Linked DNA regions of Homo sapiens: region 2 is linked to region 1. The links are contacts of gene promoters, found by promoter capture Hi-C in human tissues and cell types (Jung and others, 2019). All regions are on one chromosome and are shown on one strand. Each heading gives the region's core, a stretch centred on a gene start or on the middle of the fragment in contact. The rest is flanking DNA. Distances are from core to core; before and after follow the strand shown. Region 1 holds the start of CDR2L (cerebellar degeneration related protein 2 like). Region 2 overlaps GRB2 (growth factor receptor bound protein 2).

Region 1 (4,736 bases), core at 1,133-3,632:
CTCAGTTTCTGATCTTTCTTTCTAAGCCTGGCTCTTCCAGGAAGCCCTCCCCACTGCCCATAATACTGTGCCACCAGCCGGGCGTGGTGGCTCACGCCTGTAATCCCAGCACTTCGGGAGGCCAAGGCGGGTGGATCATCTGAGGTCAGGAGTTTGAGAGCAGCCTGGCCAACATGGTGAAACCCTGTCTCTACTAAAAATACAAAAATTAGCCAGGTGTGGTCCCAGCTACTCAGGAGGCTGAGGCAGGAGAATCACTTGAACCCGGGAGATGGAGGTTGCAGTGAGCTGAGATCGCACCATTACACTCCAACCTGGGTGACAGAGGGAGACTCTGTCTGAAAATAAATAAATAAATAAATAAAAAGAAAAAAGAAAAAAATACTGTGCCACCTACACTTAGTTACAAGCCTGCCTCCTTCACCTGCCAGGGTATACCTTCAGGGTCAGGGCTGTGACTATTCCTAGCTCCCAGGATGGTGTCTGGTACTTAAGGGGAGCCTAATAGGTGTTCATGGAAAAATTTACTGCCCAGGATGGGAGAGGGGGTTGTCACAATGTGTGGATGTGTGTGTGTGTGTGTGTGTGTGTGTGTGTGTGTGTTTGAGAGGAGCTGTATCTCATTTCAGCCAAGGAGGCTGAGGCCAGAGTCCAGGGCACAGACCATGGCAGGGCCTAGTCCAGCATCCCCAGTCCCACCCTGGTCCCCCTGAGGCTATGATTAACCCTTGTCCTCAGCACAAGGACAGAGCCTCATCTGCCAGCCAGTCTTGGCCATGTGGGGAAGTAGGTCAGGGGCTTCAGAATCCGGATAGCTGCTGCACATCAGGGCAAAGCCAGCCCTCTGGAGCCTTGTGGATGGAGACCAGGGTGTGGGCACACCACAGCAGGCCACAATGGCACAAACTGCAGCAGACTTATGTCCACACCCCCCAGCTTGCTGGAGGCCATGGGAAGGTCACTTCTCCCTGGACATGTTTCCTCGCCCCTTCCAGCTCTCACCATCCAAGAAGGAGGCATCTTAGGGGAGGAGAGGATAGAACTGACTCCACTCCAGCAGGCCTCCTCTTCCTTTCTGTCCCAACAGCCCCACCCCCCACTCCCAGTGATGTCATTTCGGCCACCTCATCACCAGCTTCTAACCCCCTTCCAGTCGCCCTTTCTGTCCTCAGATGGCAACTGGGGGCAGCGGAGATGTATCCCTCTTTATTCGGTCTCTCGCCTGGCACACTGGCCGGGATTCCCGAACCTGACCCCCTCCAAACCATGAGCCATTTGCAAGGGGACCGGGCAGGGGAGGGCTAAGCGACTCCTGACTCTCGAAGGCAGATGGGAGACTTGACTTTCTGCTTCTTCACCAGCAAAGACGCGGTACCACTTCTCCCTGAGTAGGAAGCGAGTTAGGGAAACTTTCTAGGAGTCTTAGAGCTCATAATTCCTGTCAGGGACGGGTGCTGCTGGATTTGGCGTGAGATAACTTCCCTCTACACACAAGCCACCCTCCCAGCAAAACATGACGAAGGAGCCGCCTCCCGGCCTCAGAAGACTCCTAGCTAGCGCTCAGGCCCCGTAACAATACCAGGGGCGGCCGAGCAGTTGCTGCCTCCAGGACGGGGTGGGCGAGCTGGATGACGGATGCCCGGTCGTCTGGGAAAATAGGAAGACCGCCCCCCGCCCCCCACTTTTGCAGGTCTCCGCCCGTCCGGTCCGCGTCTTCTCCGGCAGCGCCCCCTCTCTCCACGTCCCGGTTCTCCAGACGCGTCCCTCCTCCGAGTCGGGCGCGCCCGGTCCAGCCCAGCCCCTCCCGGGGTGATAGCGCCCAACAATGGAGAAGCGGACAGGGGTCACCGGGCGCTCCCCGCCTTCCTGTCCCGGTCGCCCCCGCGCTCACCCTGCTCCAGGTCCTGCTGGTCGTACCAGGACTCCTCTTCCTCCGCGGAGAAGTCCTCCATCCCGGCGGCTCTCCGCATGGCCCCGCGGGCGGCGGGCGGGTGCTGCGGCGGCGCAGCTCAGGGCCGGTGCGCGCGGCCCGGGACAATGCGGCTGAGGCGGGCCGGGCCTCCAGCGTCGGGAACTCGGGCTACAGAGCCCGCGCCGCGCCCCCTCGCCATCAACCGCTCGCCGGGAGCCCACGCGGGGCCTGGCGCTTTGCCAGGGTCCGGCCCGGCCGGGGTCCCGCAGAGCCGGGGGCACCGGGCTGCGGCGACACAAAGGGTGGAGTGGCAGGGACGGCGGGTGGGACAGTGGCAAGGAGGATCCGGGCCCGCAGGCGGGTCTGGGGCGCTAGGAGCGCGCGGGTGCCGTGGCGGGCGCCCCCTGCCCGGCTCGGGTCCGCGCTGCTCCTGGCCCGCCCGGCGACAACCGGAGCCGCCGCTGCATCTTGGCGGAGCCCGCCTGCAGCTTGCGGAGCTCGGCTCCGCGGGGTGGGGCCTGCCGCCGCCGACCAATCAGGAGATGTATGCAAAGCTGGAGGCGGGGCCGAGGGCGGGACCCTCCTGGTGTCTTGGTCTGGGAATTGCTTGATCAACCCTTTCGTCCTACTTCCCCCTACGACCTATTCAGTTTATGTCTCATGTCTAAAATTATGCTATTTTAGAAGTTGTCGTCTCTCCTAGATCTCCTGGAAGCAAGAATATTGTTTCTCTTTCACAGCTGGCTACTCACTTCCTAGAACAGGCTGCTCACCAGTCGGGCGCGATGCCTGACTCCTGTAATTCCAGCACCTTGGGAGGCCAAGGCGGGCAGATCGCCTGAGGTCAGGGGTTTCGAGACCAGCCTGGCCAACATGGCGAAACCCCGTCTCCATTAAAAATACAAAAATTAGCTGGGCATGGTGGCGCATGCCTACTCGGGAGGCTGAGGCAGGAGAATCGCTTGAACCCTGGAGGCAGAGGTTGCAGTGAGCCAAGATAGCGCCACTGCACTCCAGCCTGGGCGACAGAGGGAGACTCTGCCTCAAAAAACAAACAAACAAAAAACAAACAACATGCTGGTCATTGATACCTTCCATCGACATTCTTTGAATGAATGAATACTAATTTACAGTTGCCTTTGGGAACTGCGTGTTTAAGTGCTTGTGGCTAGAAACCACAGGCTGAAAGTGGCAAAGTTTGAGGGTGTGTTACCTGCATTCAAGGTTCTGTTTTCCTTTCCTTGGGACCCATATCCTATATCCAATTATACCCATTAAAACTATACACACTTGCATCTGTCCAAGCATTCTTTCCTTAGAAGAGTGTTCGGACTCAAGCATTCACGTAACTCATTTTTATTGGGACCCTAATGTGCTGGTGCCGTTGAGAATCTCTGAATAATGTTGTGATATACCCAACGAATGACTTGTATCCAGAATACAGAAAGAACATCTGCATAGTCATAAGAAAAAGGCACGCAACCCAGTAGAAAAGTGGGTAAAAGATTTGACCAGGTAATTCACAAAAAAGGATACACAAATAACTGAATAAATATGCAACAAGGTACTGAACTTCTTTAGCCATCAGAAAAATGCAAATGAAAACCACAATGAGGTATCACTACCCAATCACCAGAGTGGCTTTAGGGAAAAAAAAAAAAAAAAAAAAGGCCAGGCGTGGTGGTTCATGCCTATAATCCCAGAACTCTGGGGAGGCCGAGGTTGGGAGGATCACTTGAGCCTGGAGTTCAAGAGCAGCCTGGGCAACATAGCAAGATCCTATTTCTATAAAAAAATTTAAAAATAAAAATTAGGTGGGCATAATGACACACGGCTGTAGTCCCAGATACTTTGGGAGGCTGAGGTGGGAGAATTGCTTGAGTCTAGGAGGTTGAGGCTGTAGGGAGCTGTGGTCATGCCACTGCACTCCAGCCTGGGTGACAGAGCAAGATCCTGTCTCAAAAAAAAAAAAAAAAAAAAAAAAAAAAAGACAAAAAATACCTAGTATTGGCAAGAATGTTGAGCAACTGGAACTCTCTCACCCTGCTGGAGGGAATACATAGGACGACAACCACTTTAGAAAACTGCCCGGGCGTGGTGGCTCATGCCTGTAATTCCCAACGCTTTGGAAGGCCAAGGAGGGTGGATCGCTTGAGGTCAGGAGTTCAAGACCAGCCTGGGAAACATGGTGAAACCCTGTCTCTACTAAAAATACAAAATTAGCTGGGCATGGTGGCACATGCCTGTAGTCCTAGCTACTTGGGAGGCTGAGGCAGGAGAATTGCTTGAACCTGGGAGGCGGAAGTTGCAGTGAGCTGAGATTGCGCCACTGCACCCAGCCTGGGCGATAGAGCAAGACTGCGTCTTGGAAAAAAAAAAAAAAAAGACTGCTTGATAACCATGAAAGCTGAATAACGTAAGCTGTTGTAGGTTGTGTTCCCAGGCAGCTGATCCTGAGATGGAGATTAGCATGCAGGAAGTTGATTAGGGATATCAATCATATTGGATTAGAGGGAGAAAAAAGAAAGAAAGTTGACTAGGGAGTGCTCTCATGATCAACACCTGCAGGAAAGGGAGGGAAGCAGGGTTGGTGGGGGAGAAGCTGGGTTGGTATGTAGCCTCTGCAAAAGCCTCCTCTGATCCCTGAAGAACTTTGAATCCAGGGTGACCCTTCAAAGCTATTCCAGGTATCATTGGGGGAGGGGGCCTTTATATCCCCCACCCTTACATATCAACCAGTCATTGAATGACACAGGTCGTTCCTAGGAGGCATGTGTGACCTTGGCCAAATAAGTTCTTTTCAGCTGAGACTAGTTTGCACAGA
Region 2 (4,736 bases), core at 1,123-3,622, 400 kb before region 1:
AGTGGACCGTATTTGGTGCTGGAGAAGAGCCTGTGAGGAGTAAAGGAGGAAAGGCGGAGACTGAGTGGGACTCCAGCCGGTTCCTGCACGCAGTGCACACCCAGCGGGAAGGAAGAGGAAGTGTGTTCAGGAATAGCTCAGGCAGCTGTGCCATTGGCCGGCAGGCCTGTCAGTCGCCTGGGGGCCGAGGCTGAAAAGAGGAAGAAGTCGGCGGGGGGGGGCTGTTGCCTGGAAGGGAGGGAGGAGGGCTGAGCCAGGCCGAGCCAGGGGGCGTGGGGGCTGGGACAGCAGGCCGATTGGCAGGGCGGGGTTGCCTTCAATCCTGGCCACTGCTCTTAATCGTCCCTCTCCTGCTTCAGGGTGGCATTGTGTGTCCCAGAGTGCCGGAGCGAGTCCCAGAAGAGAGGCGAGGCTAAGCCCAGAGCGCTGGGTTGCTTCAGCAGGGAAGACTCCCTTCCCCCTGCTTCAGGCTGCTGAGCACTGAGCAGCGCTCAGAATGGAAGCCATCGCCAAATATGACTTCAAAGCTACTGCAGACGACGAGCTGAGCTTCAAAAGGGGGGACATCCTCAAGGTAAGTGCTGATGCCGAGCACAATGCTGAGATCGCTCTCCCTGTGCTCACCCACCTTCTTTCGCCCTGATTACACACAAAGAAGCTGTGTTTTTCATTGTACACTTTTAACATTTACCATCATATTTGTTCTGGAGAGCTTTAGATGCTGAGTAGAATATTAAATATGACTTAAGTGAGTTGGTGTGATGTGTGGTGTTTAACTGCCTTTGTGTGAATGCCTCATTTGTCTGTTGATACTGGTAATATTTCAAGTAAAGTCAAAGTAATGTGATTGTAGAAAGGAAGTATATGAGTAGATTGATTTGCCCTGTAGAGTTTTATTTTAAAAATAGCATTTTTTAAAAAGACCCAGACCTGAAGTATTTATGTAAAAGCATTCAGTTAGTCTTACTTTGTATAGCCAAAGGATTTTGCGTTCTGGAATATGATTTTGGTAGGTTAGAAATTAATTTTCCCAGTTTAGAGAGGTTGTTAGAAGTACATACCAAAACTCATTAAAGAACTTCAGTGTATTTTTATTCTTTGTGAAAAAACAAATGGAGTTCTAAATAATAAGGTGCAACCTGCTATTGTACAAGTCAGATTTCGACTTTCTTAAAAGAAACTTGAGGAGCAATTACCCCATATTAAACTCTAATTGCACGAAAAGAAACCTGCTGACAGTTTAAAAATCAGCTTCTATACCATGTGCAGCTTATTTTGAGCCCCACTATTTATGTGAGGATTCGCTCTCCCCCAGCACATGTTAATTATGTTGTTTACCCAATTGACTGTAGCAGTTTGCTCTTTTGGATGTGTAATTTATTTTAACGAGGATGAGTGTTATCAAAGAGTATGTTAACTTTAAAGGAGGAAAGGCTGAAGCTTCATGTTTGAGTGTTCCCTGTGTCTCAAGTTTTGACATTTTTCCTTCTGAGCCTTAGACTGATTGTTGGAATTTGCTACCTCATTTGTTTACTACCCCTGAATGAAATTCTTAGAATTTTATGAAGAGAAAGCAAGTGGAGATGTAGAAATATGGTTCTTTATAAAAGGACGTGCAGTCTTTTTACTTTTAAGTTATGTGGACTTATTGATAGTCTTTATTTTGCCCTCATTGCCCAAGGCGTAGAGTTCTACTCTGAAGTTAACTGCCCAGTAATTTCTTAATGTTAGAAATGTAGGTTGAGCCTCATAGAAGATGATGCTGCAGAGCCCTTTAAAGAGAAGAAAACTTTGTGTCTGTGTGTTCATTTCAAAGCTGTGTTTGTGACACCACACTTTTCGAGGGTATTCTCAAAGTCAACACTAAATTGTCAGAAAGCAGACGGAACCATTTTCTAGAAACTAGGTTTCTATTTTCTTGAACTAGAGAAAATATGCCCAGCTAGAGATCAGGGCAAAGTTAACTTAGACTACAAAATTCCTCAGTTTTCATTGGTGTATGGGAGAGGTAATTTGATGTTTCTGTAGGTGATTACTGTTTTCTGTAGATAACCCACTTGTGATGGTATAAGATGGGCTACTCAAATGCCCACATCTATAGCCTGTACAAAAGCCCTTTTGGGCTAGTATTTTTTGTTTTTGATACAAACTTAGATTTTTTCATAAGTTTATCTTAGAAACTTGAACCTAGAAGGCTGGTGGTTCATATTTTTCTCTAAATCTGTCCCATTGCACATTAAGCACTGAAGCAACAAATTAAAACAAAACTAGGGGCATGCGGTCTCTTTTTAAGAATTTTTTTTTTTTTTTTTTTTTTGAGATGGAGTCTCGCTCTGTCACCCAGGCTGGAGTGCGGTGGTACAATCTGGGCTCACCGCAAGCTCCACCTCCCAGGTTCATGCCATTCTCCTGCCTCAGCCTCCCGAGTAGCCGGGACTACAGGCGCCCGCCACCACGCCCGGCTAATTTTTTGAATTTTTAGTGGAGATGGGATTTCACCATGTTAGCCAGGATGATCTCAATCTCCTGACCTCGTGATCTGCCCACCTCGGCCTCCCAAAGTGCTGGGATTACAGGCGTGAGCTACTGCACCCAGCCTTTTTTTAAAATTTTTAAACAAGAACTTTCCCTGATTTCTGTCTTTGAAGTTTGTCCTAGACCTAGACCATGAACATTTTATAAATTCTTTAACTTAAATTAGTAAATTCTGGAGCAAGTGTAAAAACCTTCTTTCCCATCCTATTATTAGGGAAGAAGATCCTGTTTAACAGTCCCTCAGAAATTTTTATTATGGAGGAGAAAGTAAATCAGAATACTCACATTCACTTTTAGATTTTCTTTGAGGAGAGAGAAAAATACATATATGTGGTTCTTTTCAATTTGGTAGATAACTGAGATATGAAGTCATAATGCCATTATTGCTTTTGAACGGTGGCCATTAGCTGTTTGTTGGTAATGTTGTGGCTTTACTCCAAAAGAAAAAAAAAAGAGTGACGATACAGTAGTTGCCCTTTGTCTCATAACTGTGTGAAATGGCTGGGTGAAGAGGAGGAACATGCTTTCTTAAAAGCTGTTAGTTAAAAAAACGGAGTTTTCCTCATTTGATTCTTCAAGAAGTAAACTGGCTTCATTTGAATTGCTTTGATTTGGGACGTCTTGAGGGTATTAGTTGTAAGCCAAAACATGTTTTAAAAGTTGCTGGAATAGCATTGAACAATTTAACTTTCATTGAAATAGGCATATATATGCCTTCTCTTGATAAAGGAGACGTGCATATGGATATTGAATAAGTTTCATTTCAAGATAATGAAATAGGCACTTAGCCTTCATCCTCTGTCTATAGTTCAGAAGGATCACATCTTCTCCTGTCTTGGAGTTCCTGGTTAACTTTTAGTTAAAAATGGTGACTCCTCTCCTCCAGCAGACCCCTTCCCTACTTTCTGTCTACACATTGACCTGTTACTGTCCAGAGAAAAAGAGGAAAAAATAAAAGCATTTTACTGGAAGCCTAAAATAGAGTTGAATGGTTCAATATGTCTGCCTTTGTTTCTCTCTCTTATAAAAGCTTGTGTTTTTCTTGGCTCGGGGAGGGAGAGGACACTGGGATGTAAAATAGAAGGAATTGCCCTTCCACTGCAGGTTTCAGGCCTGGTGTGGTTGGAATACATCAGAATTCCTCCCACCATTGTAGGGCAGGCTTGAGACAGTCCCAGAGGTTCTCCACTGACAAGACCCCTAAATAGTCTACACTAGAGCACATAAAACTTACCTAGGAGTTGCAACTGCCATTTAGGGGCTTATGTATACATACTTCAAACTGTGCTTATAGGAATTAAGAGACCCATTTTGAGCTCTCAGATCTGTGCTCATTCCATTCTAGAGCCAGCCTCTTGCTTTCTTCAGCTCTAGTGGAGAGCCAGCCTGGATCATCTAGGTGTATTCTACCCTCTCTGGCACTAACTACCTTTACCAGTTTCTTAAACTACTTTAAAAACAGGTCTTGAGTTCACATTGAGATCTTCAAAGCATTCTGTCTCAGCACTGCCTGGCCTATTTCAGTGTCACACTGACTGAGCATCTCTTGAGCCAGATACTGGGATAAGTTGCTTTGAGAGTTGGGAGAGAAATATAAGATGTACTTTCTCCCTTCAGAAGCTCCAAAATCTCAAGTAAGAGAATTGAGATTAATATGTGAAACAGTACAAGATGGTATATAAAAATTTTTTTAGAACAGGAAAAGATCTTTTAAAATTTATTTTTATTTATTTTTTTATTTTTTTGAGATGGAGTCTCGCTCTGTCACCCAGGCTGGAGTGCAGTGGCGCGATCTCGGCTCACTGCAAGCTCTGCCTCCCGGGTTCACGCCATTCTCCTGCCTCAGCCTCCCAGTAGCTGGGACTACAGGCACCCACCAGCACGCCCGGCTAATTTTTTGTATTTTTAGTAGAGACGGGGTTTCACCATGTTAGCCAGGATGGTCTCGATCTCCTGACCTGGTGATCCGCCCGTCTCGGCCTCCCAAAGTGCTGGGATTACAGGCGTGAGCCACCGCGCCCGGCAAGATCTTTTAAAATTTCTTAAGTTAGACTTACTCTTTTACAGATGAGGAAATGGTGGCCCATATAGGTTAAATGATCTATCCAAGATCACACAACTATCATTCTTGGTAGTGATTTGTAGTAGTGATTCTTAGTAGTATTTGATGGTATACTTGAGTCGGGTTGCACACTGTAACT

What was found. The method cuts DNA at HindIII sites, captures the fragments that hold promoters and counts their contacts. A contact is called where the count stands out against the background at its distance.
Region 2: a fragment that was not itself captured here is called in contact with the fragment with the promoter of CDR2L in region 1 in 1 of the 25 tissues and cell types used here (spleen).

Annotation. Positions count from the first base shown.
Region 1 is chr17:74,985,278-74,990,013 of GRCh38, reverse strand. It overlaps CDR2L (cerebellar degeneration related protein 2 like), which reads right to left and starts at 2,382. Exons shown (of 5, transcript NM_014603.3): 1 at 1,892-2,382. The coding sequence starts at 1,970. RefSeq lists silencers at 2,287-2,376, 2,397-2,476 and an enhancer at 2,043-2,544. The HindIII fragment of the contact is 16,458 bases long and covers 1-4,736 here.
Region 2 is chr17:75,389,389-75,394,124 of GRCh38, reverse strand. It overlaps GRB2 (growth factor receptor bound protein 2), which reads left to right. Exons shown (of 6, transcript NM_002086.5): 2 at 360-574. The coding sequence starts at 497. LOC124904060 (a long non-coding RNA gene) reads right to left here and starts at 62. Exons shown (of 2, transcript XR_007065909.1): 1 at 1-62. RefSeq lists enhancers at 1-99, 42-141. The HindIII fragment of the contact is 6,103 bases long and covers 1-4,736 here.